Linked DNA regions of Homo sapiens: regions 1, 2, 3 and 4 are each linked to region 5. Evidence: promoter capture Hi-C in human tissues and cell types (Jung and others, 2019). All regions are on one chromosome and are shown on one strand. Each heading gives the region's core, a stretch centred on a gene start or on the middle of the fragment in contact. The rest is flanking DNA. Distances are from core to core; before and after follow the strand shown.

Region 1 (2,700 bases), core at 191-2,690, 200 kb after region 5:
CACCTCTAGAGCCTCAGAATTCAAAGAATCGAAGGGAAAGAATAAAATGCAAAAGCTAAAAAAACCTTTCATCATTCTCATTACACCAAACCACACCTGAAGGAAAAGCTAAATGTCGTGAGATAGAGGCAACAACTCAGACATTCTCTTCCAGGTGGTATCAGCCACCTGACTGGTGAAACACTCCATCACAGAGCAACAGAAGGGATTTTCAAACCACACCAATGCAGATGAACTCAAGTCCAGAAGATTCTGCCTACATGCCACATACAATCACTGATCCGCAGTGGGTCATAATCACAGTTGATTTTACACAGTTGTGTTTACAGTTCCCCAACATCTTCCAACTATGATTTGCAATGAACAGAACCAACCACAATCTTTGGCCCTTTAGATCCAAGCATTTCTCTGGAGGCCACTAAATAACCAATTCAACTGATAGTCTCAGTTGAGTTTTAGTGACCAAAAGCAGAGTTAGATATTTTCTGCATCAAAAATATATTAGAAGGCATTTCTTTAAAAGCTTATTCCATAAATTCAAATCTATGGGAAATTTCAAACATGACCAAAGTGGAGAAAATAGTATACTCCACAAATAGTATAATGAGCCCAATATTTAAAAATTTCCAACCTATGGCCAATCTTACTTCATCTATACCTCTGTGCATTACCTACTCTCTCCACCTCCCATCCCTCTATGGAATTATTTAAGGCAGTTTTTTGAGGGGTCCAATATTTTACTTATCTGCCAACAAAAAGCAAATATTAACTTGATACAGTTTGCGTGTTTGTCGCCACCCAAGTCTCATGCTGAATTGTAATCCCCAGTGTTAGCTGTGGGGCCTGGTGGGAGCTGACTGGATCACGGGGGTGGATTTCTCATGAATGATTTAGGACCAACCTTTGGTGCTGCACTCCTGATAGTGATGACAGTGAGCGCCTTCTCTCAAGATCTGGGCATTTAAAAGTGTGTGGCACCTCCTCCCAACTCTCTCCTGCTCCTGCATTTGTTATGTTATGTGCCCGCTCCTGCTTTGCCTTCCGCCATGAGTAAAACCTCCAAGGCCTCCCCAGAAGCAGATGCTGCTATGCTGTCTGTACAGCCTGCAGAACCCTGAGCCAATTAAGCCTTTTTTTTAAATAAGTTACCAGTCCCAGGTATTTATAGCAATGCAAAAATGGACTAATATATAACAACTACAGGCAAAGAATGTAAACCAAGGTGCTGGTAATAAACAAAGACTTCTTAAACATCAACCACTATCAACAAATTTCATCGAAATTTTCTCTTTAGGTTCGAGATTCTCTAGTCCTATTCCAACAATGTAGGTATCTCATCCACAACTAAGTAGTTCCCGACTCAGCTCTCAGCACTGCCCTACAGTGATCAAGAGACACCTGGTCCTCCAGCAGCCCGGCTTTGTGAGTACTAGGTAAGGTACTTCAGAATAATAGCATTCTAATAGATCAGACTATCCTTCTGATCAGCCAAAAACAAATGCTCCACTTAATGACATACTTACCTCTTCTAAATCTGTGCCCGCCAAACTTCCCTGCCAAACTTTATAAAAACTACCAAGGATGGTACTGTGAGCATAGTACAAATTACTGTGAAGCTGGTTCATTTGAAATAAGAGAAGCCAGGCGCAGGAGCTCACGCCTGTAATCCCTACACTTAGAGAGGCAGAGGCAGGCGGATAGCTTGAGCCCTGGAGTTTGAGACCTGCCTGGGCAACACAGTAAGATCCCATTCTCCACAAAAACGGAAGGAAAAAGACAAAGTTTGAAATCAGGTGTAAAAACCCTTGCTTTATGAAAGTATATATAACCAAGACCCTTCCAGGCCTTCAGCTGGTTACTTGCACAAAGCTCAGCTCAAGGGCCATGGTGAGAGTCCCTTTTCTTCCTGTTCATCCATTAGGACCACCAATAAGAATAAGCTAGTTAAAACTAGGTTTCCACCAGATGGAAACAATACTCATACCTCAACAAAAAGCTGGCAGAAATCACAGCAACCACTGTTTTACCTCTTAAGACCTCCTAACCTTGCAGGTGTCAAATAAAGTGTGCCCTTAGTGCTTAAAGTCACCAGCCTTCCTCAGTGATGCTGCGGCGTCCTCATCTGCCCTGTGCTTGCAGGACGTTCTCTCTTCTCCACCTGATGTACACACTCAAGGGGGCCCTGAACTTCATTAGGGCCTGCAACAAGGGCCACTCAGTGACTCTTCCTCCCTCTCTGTGGGGACGCTGAGCACTGCCCTGCTATTTGGAGCAGCTTACAACTTAAAAATTTCAGCCAGCACTGAACTCGGCATCACCCTGAGCCTGAGAGGCCGCAGGGCATCTGTTTCATCTTTCACTGCACCTAACATGGTGCCCTACATACAGTATACACACACACACACACACACACACACTCCTGATTGTCACCAACAATCTTATCTACACATCTAATAATTTAAGTTTGCCTGCTGACAGTGGAGTATCGCAGAACCTGAGGATGACTGAATTACAAGCACCTATTCTTATCAACAATCTCCATTCTATTCAGCCCAAACCAAGGGATAGTTTAATAATTATTCATAGCAAAATGGATAGCCACTGTGGATAATTCATTTTAAAAATTAGGTCAACTATCACCTAAATTCACTTCTTGGTCCAATGTATGCTGGTAGCTGTCATCCTTGCTAAAACATACCA
Region 2 (2,700 bases), core at 157-2,656, 150 kb after region 5:
GCCTATGAAAACCTAGGACCAAACCTCTTAGTTAAACTGTGCATGTTAGACCAAAAGCCAGATAAGAATCCCACAGCCTTTATGGAAAAGCTGAGAGAGGCACTAATAAAACACATCTCTTTATTCCCTGATTCAGTCAAGGAACAGCTCATCCTCAAGGACAAGTTTATTATATAGGCAGCTCCCAGTATTAGAAGGAAATTGCAGAAGCAGGCTATAGGACCAGATAGCACCTTGGAAAACCTCCTGAGGGAGGCCACCTCGGTCTTTTATAAAAGAGACCAGGAGGACGCCCAAGATAAAGAAAGGAAACACAAGAGGAAGACAGAGGCTTCTAGTAGCTGCTCTGCGGGCTTGCAAAGTCCAGGATCCCCAAGGTGCATCCACTAGTTGCTACTGGTGTGGCAAGTCAGAGCACTTTAAGAAGGAGTGCCCAGGCAACAAGAGGAAGCAACCTTGACCCTGTCCAGTCTGTGGCAGAGACCACTGGAAACTGGACTGCCCCTGGAGATGGAGGTCACTGGGTTCAGAACCAGTCTCACAGATTGTCCAACAGGACTAACTGGTCCTGGAGCTCAAACCCCCAGCTCCAGCAGCTTGAACTGCCATTACTGCACAGGAGCCCCAGGTGATTCTGGAAATCGAAGGAAGGAGGGTGACCTCCTTCTGGACACTGGAGCCAGCTTCTCTCATCTTCCCTTTAATCCAAGACTCCCCTCTTCCCGTAGCACAACTGTGATGGGTGTCTCAGGAAAGGTTCTAACCTGATATTTTTCTCAACCCCTTCGTTGTAGTTGGGGGGGACCTATTATTTACACATGCCTTTTTAATTATGCCTGAAAAATCCCACTCCTTTATTAGGTAAAGACATTTTAGCTTGCATGGGGGCCAGCATCCTTATAGCCCCAGACAAACTCTTCCCCCTGGTGGAAGCTAATATTAATCCAGAAGTGTGGGCAACTCAAGGAAAAATAGGTCAAGCTATTAACTACTAGGCCAGTTCGGATCCATCATAAGGCTCCTACTTCTTTTCCTAACCAGAAACAAGATCCCCTAAAGCCAGAAGCTAGGAAAGTGCTAGAAGCCATTATGAACCTAAAGATGTAGGACCTCCTGAAACCCTGTAACAGGTCCTGCACTGTTAAGGTCCTGCACCCCAATATTAGGAGTGCAAAAACCCAGTGGGGAATGGAGATTAGTTCAGGAACCTCACCTCATTAATGAGGCTGTAGTCCCAATTCATCCAGACTGTACCCTCTTCACGGATGGAAGTTCCATTCTGAAGCAGGGAGTCCAGAAGGCAGGATGTGCAGCAGTCACTCTGAATGATGTTATTAAAAGTGTACCCCTCTCTCCAGGCCCAAGCACTCAACTAGCTAAACTAATAGCTCTTACAACAGCACTTGAATTAAGCAAGGGAAAGCTAGTTAACATTTACAGACTCCAGGTATGCTTTCTTAGTTCTTCATGCTCACGCTGCCGTTTGGAAGGAAAGACACTTTCTTACTGCTAATGGATCCCCTATAAAATACTGCCAGGAAATTAACAGGTTATTATCCTCAGTTTTCCTTCCATGAGAGGTAGCAGTGATGCATTGTAAGGGACACCAGAAGGGAACAAATTAAATAGCTGAAGGAAACAAGTTAGCTCATCAGGCAGCCAAGTCAGCAGTAAGGAAGCCTCAGAGCATCAACACACTTGAAGCCCCTCTCATCTGCGAAGGCTCCATAAGAGAAATTAAGCCTCAGTACTCCCCTGCAGAGATAGAATAGGCCATCTCTCCAGGGTAAACTTTTCAGCCCTCAGGATGGCTACAGTCAGAGGATAGCAAGCTCCACTTGCCAGCCTCCAGCCAGTGGAAAGTCCTTAAAGTTCTTCACCAAGCTTTTCACTTGGGAAAGGATAAAACTTACCAGTGTGCTCAGAGTTTTTTTTCAGGAGAGAGCTTAATAAAAACAGTCAAACAGGTTGTTAATGCTTGTGAAGTCTGTCTTAAAAATAGTCCCCTTGGCCATGCACGGTGGCTCACACCTGCAATCCCAGCACTTTGGGAGGCCGAGGCAGGTGGATCACCTGAGGTCAGGAGTTTGAGACCAGCCTGGTCTATATGGTGAAACACCATCTCTACTGAAAATACAAGAATTAGCCAGGCATGGTGGCATGCACCTGTAATCCCAGTTATTCAGGAGGCTGAGGCAGGAGAATAGATTGAACCTGGAAGGTGGAGGTTGCAGTGAACTGAGATCACACCACTGCACTCCAGTCTGGGCAACAGAGTAAGACTCTGTCTCAAAGAATAATAATAAAAATAAAATAATAAAATATAAAAATAAAGTTACTCTAGCCACCCAATCCAATGCCACTTATCCACTTAAAAAAATGTTACTTTTAGGCCGGTCGCGGTGGCACATGCCTGTAATCCCAGCACTTTGGGAGGCTGAGGTGGGCGGATCACAAGGTCAGGAGTTCGAAATCAGCCTAGCCAACATGGTAAAACTCCATCTCTACTAAAAATACAAAAATTAACTGTGCATGGTGGTGCATGCCTGTAGTCCCAGCTACTCTGGAGGCTGAGGCAGAAGAATTGCTTGAACCCAGGAGGCAGAGGTTGCTGTGAGCTGAGATCATGCCACTGCACTCCAGCTTGGGCGACAAAGCAAGACTCCATCTCAAAAAAAAAATGTGACTTTTATATTAATG
Region 3 (2,700 bases), core at 65-2,564, 220 kb before region 5:
GCCAATGACTGGATTTTGGAAAGCACCGATATGCGCATCTTTTTTTTTTTTTTTTTTTTTTTTTTTTTTTTTGAGATGGAGTCTTGCTCTGTCGCCAGGCTGGAGTGCAGTGGCGTGATACCGGCTCACTGCAATCTCCATCTCCTGGGTTCAAGCGATTCCCCTGCCTCAGCCTCCCCGAGTAGCTGTGACTCCAGGCACGCACCACTATGCCCGGCTAATTTTTTGTATTTTAGTAGAGACAAGGTTTCACCACGATGGCCAGGAAAGTCTCGATCTCCTAACCTTGTGATCTGCCCACCTTGGCCTCCCAAAGTGCTGGGATTACAGGCGTGAACCACCGCACCCGGCCACATGCATCTTATTTTAGTGAGATGAGATGTAGGAGTTAGCGAGGTAGGGAAAGGGAAGAACAGTAGACACAAGGAACACCAACTCAAAGCACACAGGAGAGAGTGCACGGGCTGCCTGAGAACAGGTGGTGGTGAAGCACGGTGGGCTGCGGGGCACGCGGAGGGCTGGAGGAGTGTGCGGGAGCAGAACCCCTGCTTCTGTGTTCCACTGCCTGTGTAAACTTCTCAGGTCGGTTCCCATGGTCATGTCTCTCCAGGAAGTTTCTCAATGGCACACACCATGTTACCCTCCCTTATGTCAAGCTTGTCCAACCCGTGGCCCAGGATGGCTATGAATGCAGCCCAACACAGATTTGTAAACTTTCTTAAAACATTATGAGATTTTTTTTTTTTTAGCTCATCAGCTATCATTATTGTATTTTACATGGAGCCCAAGACAATTCTTCTTCTAACACGGCCCAGGGAAGCCAAAAGATTGGACTTCGCCACTTTAAGATAAGCGGTTGTTGACTTTAAGACAAAAAAGGACACTTTATAATGACTAAAAAAATCAATCCATCAGGAATACACACCATTATAAACATAATGTACCAAACAACTGAGCACCAAAACACATGAAGCAAAAACTGGTAACACTGAAGGGAGAAACAGACAACTTAACAAAAGTAGTTGAAGACTTCAGTGCCCAACTTTCAATAATGGACGGAACAGCTAGGCAGAAGATCAGCAAGGAAACAGAAGGCTGAACAAGCTACACCTACAGACCACTGCAGAACACCCAATCACAGAACACACATTCTTCTGAAGAGCACATGAAACATTTGCCAGGAAACATCAAATGCTAAACCATAAAACAAGCCTCAATAAAATTAAGAGGACTGATATCACACACAGTCTGTTCTGTGATCAAAATGGAATGAAATTAGAAATCGATAATAGAAGGAAATTTGAGAAATTCATAAATATGTGGAAATTAAACAACTCCTAAATACAAATGGGTGAAAGAAGAAATCAGAAAATTTAACAGTACTTGAAATAAATGAAAACACAATATACAGAAATTTATGGGATGCAGTGAAAACAGTACGTACAGGGAAATGTACAGCTATAAACACCTATATTAGCCAGACATGGTGGCTCATGCCTGTAGTCGCAGCTACTTGGAAAGCTGAGGCAGGAGGATCATTTGAGTCCAGAAGTTTGAGACCAGCCTGGACAACATAGCAAGACCTCATTCCAAACCAAAAAAAAAAAAACCCCCAAACCCCAACTATATTTAAAAAGAAGAATGATCTCAAATCAGGAATTGAAACTTCCACTTAAGAAACAGAAAAAAAAAGTAGCAAGCAAAATCCAAAGTAAGCAGAAAGGAAATAATAAAGATTAAAGCAGAAATAAATAAAACAGAATAGAAAAAAATCAAGGAAAATCAATAAAAGTAAAAATAGATTATTTTAAAAGATCAACCAAATTTCTGAACCTTTAGCTAGACTGACCAATAAAAAGGAGAGAATGCAAATTACTAAAGTCGAGAATAAAAGAGAGAGGCCAGGTACAGTGGCTCACACCTGTAATCCCAGCACTTTGGGAGGCTGAGGCAGGAGGATGGAGACCGGCTTGGGCAAGATAGCAAGACTCCATCTCTTAAAAAAAAAAGGAAAATTAGCCAGGCATGGCTAGGCGTGGTGGCTCATGCCTGTAATCCCAACACTTTGGGAAGCTAAGGTGGGAGGATCACTTGAGGCCAGGAGTTTCAGACCAGTGTGGGCAACATAGTGAGATTGCCTAAGGAGGTCAAGGCTGCAGTCAAGCTATGATTGAACCACTGCACTCCACCCAGAATGACAGAGTGAGACTCTGTCTCAAAAAAAAAAAAAAGGCGGGGGGGCGAGGGAGGCCAAGGCAGGAGGATTACTTGAGGCCAGGAGCTCAAGACCAGGCTGGGAAACATAGTGAGACCCTAGCTCTACAAAAAAGTAAAACAAAAATGAGCTGGGCGTGGTGGCTTATGCCTGTAGTCCAGCTACTCAGGAGGCTGAAGCAGGAGGATCACTTGAGCCCAGGAATTCGGGGCTACAGTGAGCCATGATCAAGCCACTGATTTCTAGCCTGGGTGACACAGCAAGACCCTGTCTCTATAAAATAACAACTAAGAAAGAATAAAAGAGAGGGAATCAATGCTGACCTTACAATAATAAAAGGGATAATAGGGGAATCGTTTAAATTGTATGCCAACAAATCCAATAACTAAGATGAGATGCAGAAATTCCTACAAATAAACAAACTATCGAAAAACTTTCCACAAAGAAAATGTCAGACACAGACGGTTTCAATTGTAATTCCACCA
Region 4 (2,700 bases), core at 201-2,700, 170 kb before region 5:
TTCTTTCTTGCATTTCTTTCCTTCTGTATTTCCTTCAGCTGGTACACTGTTAATTAATTCCCTCCTTATTTCATCTTCATTCCTGGAAAGTATTTTTGCTAAATTTAACAAAATTCTAGGTTTGCAGTTAGTAGATTCTATTGTTTCTGTTGTGAAGTCAGCTGTTAGTCTAATCATTACTTTTCTGAACGTATTTTTTTTCCCTTGTGGCTGCTTTTAGACTTTCCTATTTTCGTTGGTTTCTTGCAGTTTTATTACGATGTAGTTAGGTGTAGATTTCTTTTTGTTTATCTTCCTTGCAATGTGTACAACTTCGAGAATCTATGGTTTAGGTATCATTTCCTTTTAAAATACTGCTTCTGCTATACATGTAACTTTCCCTCTCCTTTCATTATTCCAATTTTTGCGAAAACTTTTCGATGTATAGTCTATATCTTTTCCTTTCTTCTGTAATACTGTATCTTGAAGCTTCATTCCAGATCTCTCCTTCTAAGCCATCTTCCAGTTCACTTATTTTCAAGTATGTCTAATCTGATGCTAAACTCATCCACTAAGTTTTCTGTTTTCCCCACCCCCTCCCACCCCATTTTTCTTTTCAAACAGGGCCTCACTATTTTACCCTGGCTGGTTTCGAACTTCTGGGCTCCAGCTACCCCCAAGCCTCAGCCCCCCGAGTAACTGGGACTACCAGCTACTTGCACCTACCTACCTGTACATCGAGTTTTTAATTTCAGTTACTGTATTTTTATAGTTCTAAAATTTCTACTTGGTTCTTTTCCAAATTTGCCTTCTTTTTGTTTGCTCTGACATTTTGAATCTTGTTTCTTATCTCCCTGAACATATTTAAGGTGGTATCTAAAATTCCTATATCTAGAGCCCTAAGTCTATTACTATTGTCATCATTACTGTTACCTTTTAATGTTATTTTTGTGTATAATAAGTACATATGAAAAACTTAAACCACTGTAATCTTATTTCTGAGACTGAGATTCTCTAGTCTGCCAGAAGATTCAAAGATGGCCTAAAATCTGAGCAAAGGCTATTTTATTTCCCCCTAAATCTTATGGTGCTGCTCTCTGAAGTCTCAATCCAGGGTATGGGGTTTACAAAGCCCCCTAACCTCAATAGGCCCCGAACTCTAAATTTTGTCCCCAAGCCTTGAGGCTGTCAAAAATATGAGTAGCCTCTCAGCCTGACAGGCAAACACCCCCACAGAAAAAGCACTTCTAAACACTGAATTACCACTTTAGGTTTCTCTTGGCTTAGTAATTCTTTGCTACTTTGTTCCTAGATAATGAGCAGATTTCTATATATTTTTGTCTAGCTTTTCTAGTTGTGCTTGGCAGAGGGGTTAGTCCAAATCACCTAGAATGCCACTGTGAAAATCGGAAGTTCCCTAATTATTGTGAATCTTGCCCTTTAGCATTATAAAGTGACTTTCTTTGTCTCAAAGTGTCCCTTCCCCCTTAATTCAATTTTGCCCATTAGCTTCCTTTTATGTCTTTGTATATACGCTTTCATTTTACTTCCTGAATCCCTCTTCTAGATTTTTATCTTGAATACATCATAATTGTTTATTCCTACTTATTAGAATCATCTATAATGGTATCACTGCCATAAAAACACCAAAAAAAAGCACAATCAAGGAGGAAATATTTCCATCTTATACTTACTGTAAATTCTTCTTCCTCTTCATCACCAGATTCTCCAAATATGTCTGCAATAAGATTTCTAGAAAGTAGACAAATGTAAAAACATTCATTTGCTTTATCCTCATTTGCATAGGAACCATTTTTTAAAAAATAGAATTTATGTACAGTAAAATGTGCAGATCTTCAGTGTTCAGTTCAATGAGTTTTAACAAATATATACACTCATGTAACCAGCACCCTATACACTCATGTAGCCTCCCCAGAAAGTCCTCTCATGGCCCCTTCTAGCTGGTCCCCAATATCAACATCCTAGAAACAACTGCCACCTTGACTTCCAACACCACAGATAAATTTTGCCTACTGAACTTCATGTAAATGGAATCATATATGTCCTCTTTGCTTTCTTTCACTTAACATGTTAATTCTGAGATGAATTCTGAGATTCACCCACATTGTAGTGTGTTCAGTTCAGGAACTAAAATACTAAATCCCCAAAGACATGCAATTAGGCAGGACATATTGTATTATAACACAGACCCCTCTCTACTGCCTAATTAAGAACCCCTGAAAACTCATGTTATACTGTCACTTACTCTTCTTCATTGCCTGACTCACTGTCACTCCCAAACAGATCCTTCTCTTCATTTTTCTTATCAGACAATTCTTTCCCAGCTTCTTCCTCACTGTCAGATGCTATGGTCTTCTCTCTTTTGCCTGACTTGTCTGATACAGCATCACTGTCAGAGTCATCTGCATCAGAGACAACACGACTCTTCTTTGCTGCTGTTGAAAAAGAAAATCATCATTAATTTTATTTTATCACAGCCATTGTATTACTAAGCATAACAGGTGCTTTAAGATGGCAGTATACAGCAAAAATAAATAAATAAATAAATAAATAAATAAATAAATAAAATAAAATCAGAGGGCCTCCTGACACATGGTTTAGAATTTTTAAAATAACTAAATGGCTCATTCAGAGTCATCTTACAAATTATCTGTTATTTTGCTTAAGAAAAACTGGCCAAAAGATGAAGAAAGATATCAT
Region 5 (2,700 bases), core at 33-2,532:
GGCTGGGGGAGACCAGGGCCTCAGGGACAGCCCCCTCCCACCCAGTCCTGAGTCATGCACTTGTACCCAGCTAGGTTCCAGAAAGGGCTGCAGGGACAAACACTGGCCGGACACTGGTGGACCTGTGACTGGCCTCCTGAGTGGCTCAGCCTCTGTGGCCTCTGGTGACCTCATCTGTGAAATGGCAACGAGGGGCCTGAGAGCAGAGGGTGGGCCAGGCCCAGGGGAGCGCCCTGTCCCCAACCAACCCCTGCACAGCTGGTGCTTGGGCGCAGCTCTGGCCAAGTTCCAACATACCCTTCAACATTTTTAACATTTTTACCACCCCAGGTTTACAGAGGAGGAAACGGAAGGCTCCAGAGATGACACTCACCGGGATCGGGGATCGCACAGCGCGGGCTCGGGGAAGTTGGGGGAGGCACGCAACCTTTGAACCTTTTGCCCGTGGTTGGTGTCTGACCTTGGACAAGACCCCCTCCCGCAGCCCTGGGCGTCGGTTGTGAGCAGACGGCTGTCCCATCTTGCAGCGGGCGGGTGGGCAGGAGCTCCACCTTCCGCTGCAGGCGCTCGCCCAGAGGAAGAGGCGCGGGGGCTGGGGGACCCCTGCCCCGACGGGCGCTGCCGCCCCGGCAGCTGCGAGAATCCGACGCGCCAGGGCGGAGCGGGGATCGTGGCGCCGCGGGGCTGTACGAGGGCGAGCTGCGCCTCGGCCAGGGGTCCCGCAGTCCCGCCTCCCCGGCCCGGGGGCGTGGGTGGGGGCCGTTACCTTCCCGTCATGGTGGCAGCGACGCCGAGCCCTGGGTTGCCGGGGTTGCCGCGGGTCTCCCTCTGCTGCTGCAGCCGCCAGCCGAGCGCCCGCCCGCCAGCCCGGGCCGCGGAGCAGGGAGACGCCCAAAAAAGGCCAAGAGCCGCTCCGCCCGCGAGAGGGGTGGGCGGGGGTGGCAGGGTGGGGCCCGCGGGGCGGGGTGGGATGGGGAGGTCAAGGCTGAGGGTGGTGGGGGTGTTGGGGAGGTGACGGTGGGAGGTTGCGGGAGTATAGGTGGGGGTGGGGGTGGCAGGTGGGGGTGGCGGCGGGTAGGGTTGGAGGGGTGGGGGTTAAAGGTGGGGCTGACGGTGGGGTTGGAGGGGTGAGAGTGAGGCGGGGGTGGGAGTGGGGGTAAAAGTAGGGGTAAAGGTAGAGGGTGGGCCCCGCTCCCGCACAGCCCCAGCTCCAGGGACACGGAGCGCGGCCAGCGGCGGGCGCGGGTCAAGTCCTTCCCAACCCGGGCTCTGCTCGCCACCTCCTGGATTCCGGGCATAGCTTTCCTTTTAAAGGGAGTAAAGTTATAATAAACGCGAACAAGCACCCCCACCCCCACAGCCCCGCCGGGACGCCCCGCCCGGCGCCCCCTCTGCAGTCCCTGGGCCGCCCCAACCGCAAACGCGTGCAGGAGATGGTAGGCGTGGGGGCGATGCTGAGACCACCTCCCTCCCGGGCTTTCCTAGCCCGGAGTTCCCACCGCGGATCTGGGCACTGACTCCCTCCCGAGGCACCCGGGACCGCCGAGTCCACGCAGTCCCGCCCCCAGGGAGGCTAAAGCCGAGAGGCGTCCCTCTTCAGTCGCAAAGCTGCTTTCCCCGGGAAATTCCGATTTCATCCCCCGTTGCGGGCCATCGCCCTAACTTGGCGAAAGATATTTCTTAAACGACAAAACCAAATGCCCAGCTCCCAGGTTTCCAGGGGAACCAGGCACGCCTCTGTATAATGAAGCGCTGAGAAGCTACCATTAGAGGCGTTAAGATGGAGGGGTAATATAAACTATTTAGGGAATCTCTTCGGAGGAAATTTTCAAACAAACAAAACAAAAAACCCCCGCCCTGCCTAAAGGCAGATATTTCCAGCTGGACAGTGGCGTGCAGCTCATCTTTGGAAGCAGCCCAGATGTCACACTGAGGTTTGGGAGCTGGGCGGCCTGATGTGTAAATGTGGTGCTACTCCGGTCTTGGCAGCAGAGAAAGATGATCTAGAAATGACGGTGTGAATTAGCAACCCACAAATAAACTGGTGCCGTTCAGAAAGATGAGTTGATAGTATCCTGCAGTTCCACCTGCAGAAATAAGCTGGGAAAAGACACCTGTTCCTAAGTGGCTGGTATTGTGGAGTGCCTTTGCAGTTGTTACTTTTTTTTTTTTTTTTTTTTTGAGACGGAGTTTCGCTCTTATTGCCCAGGCTGGAGTGCAATGGTGCAATCTCCGCTCACTGCAACCTCCGCCTCCCAGGTTCAAGCGATTCTCCTGCCTCAGCCTCCCAAGTAGCTGGGATTACAAGCATATGCCACCACACCCAGCTAATTTTGTATTTTTGATAGAGATGGGTTTCACCATGTTGGTCAGGCTGGTTGCAAACTCCTGGCCTCAGGTGATCCGACTGTCTCGAGTTATTACTTCTTGTTGCGAGCGTGTCTCAGCTGATTCGGCTTAACTGTAATTTGATGGTTGATTAAGCTTAAGTATGGATAATTTCTTGGCTCACCTGCTCATACAGGGAGAAAGGCTTTCCACCATTACTGACACAGAGGTGTAGGCATGCTGGGGCCGTGCACCAGAAATCCACTGCTGGACGGTTAATTGAATATCAGGGTCTTGTGGGAACCAAAGAGGATGAAAAGTTGAAAGCATTACACCAGAGGCCCATGCTCTCCACAGAGGAGACCACATTCC

The links. Contacts are between HindIII fragments. The study calls those that stand out against the background at their distance.
Region 1: a fragment that was not itself captured here is called in contact with the fragment with the promoter of LIMS2 in region 5 in 2 of the 25 tissues and cell types used here (heart right ventricle and hippocampus).
Region 2: a fragment that was not itself captured here is called in contact with the fragment with the promoter of LIMS2 in region 5 in 1 of the 25 tissues and cell types used here (pancreas).
Region 3: a contact is called between a fragment that was not itself captured here and the fragment with the promoter of LIMS2 in region 5, in 1 of the 25 tissues and cell types used here (spleen).
Region 4: a fragment that was not itself captured here is called in contact with the fragment with the promoter of LIMS2 in region 5 in 1 of the 25 tissues and cell types used here (mesenchymal stem cells).

The regions. Positions count from the first base shown.
Region 1 is chr2:127,878,383-127,881,082 of GRCh38, forward strand. The region is part of intron 2 of AMMECR1L (AMMECR1 like); the gene reads right to left. It also overlaps the pseudogene LOC107985803. Among named protein-coding and RNA genes, the nearest start is that of AMMECR1L, 6.2 kb to the right of the region's middle. The HindIII fragment of the contact is 5,734 bases long and covers 1-2,700 here.
Region 2 is chr2:127,821,282-127,823,981 of GRCh38, forward strand. No RefSeq gene overlaps it. Among named protein-coding and RNA genes, the nearest start is that of WDR33, 11 kb to the left of the region's middle. The HindIII fragment of the contact is 3,309 bases long and covers 1-2,700 here.
Region 3 is chr2:127,456,682-127,459,381 of GRCh38, forward strand. It overlaps LOC124907884 (a long non-coding RNA gene), which reads left to right. Exons shown (of 2, transcript XR_007087229.1): 2 at 1-1,240. Among named protein-coding and RNA genes, the nearest start is that of MIR4783, 34 kb to the left of the region's middle. The HindIII fragment of the contact is 4,271 bases long and covers 1-2,700 here.
Region 4 is chr2:127,501,142-127,503,841 of GRCh38, forward strand. IWS1 (interacts with SUPT6H, CTD assembly factor 1) reads right to left here. Exons shown (of 14, transcript NM_017969.3): 4 at 2,246-2,435; 5 at 1,674-1,731. Among named protein-coding and RNA genes, the nearest start is that of IWS1, 24 kb to the right of the region's middle. The HindIII fragment of the contact is 3,564 bases long and covers 1-2,700 here.
Region 5 is chr2:127,674,248-127,676,947 of GRCh38, forward strand. It overlaps LIMS2 (LIM zinc finger domain containing 2), which reads right to left and starts at 1,283. Exons shown (of 10, transcript NM_001161403.3): 1 at 767-1,283. The coding sequence starts at 777. The HindIII fragment of the contact is 18,801 bases long and covers 1-2,700 here.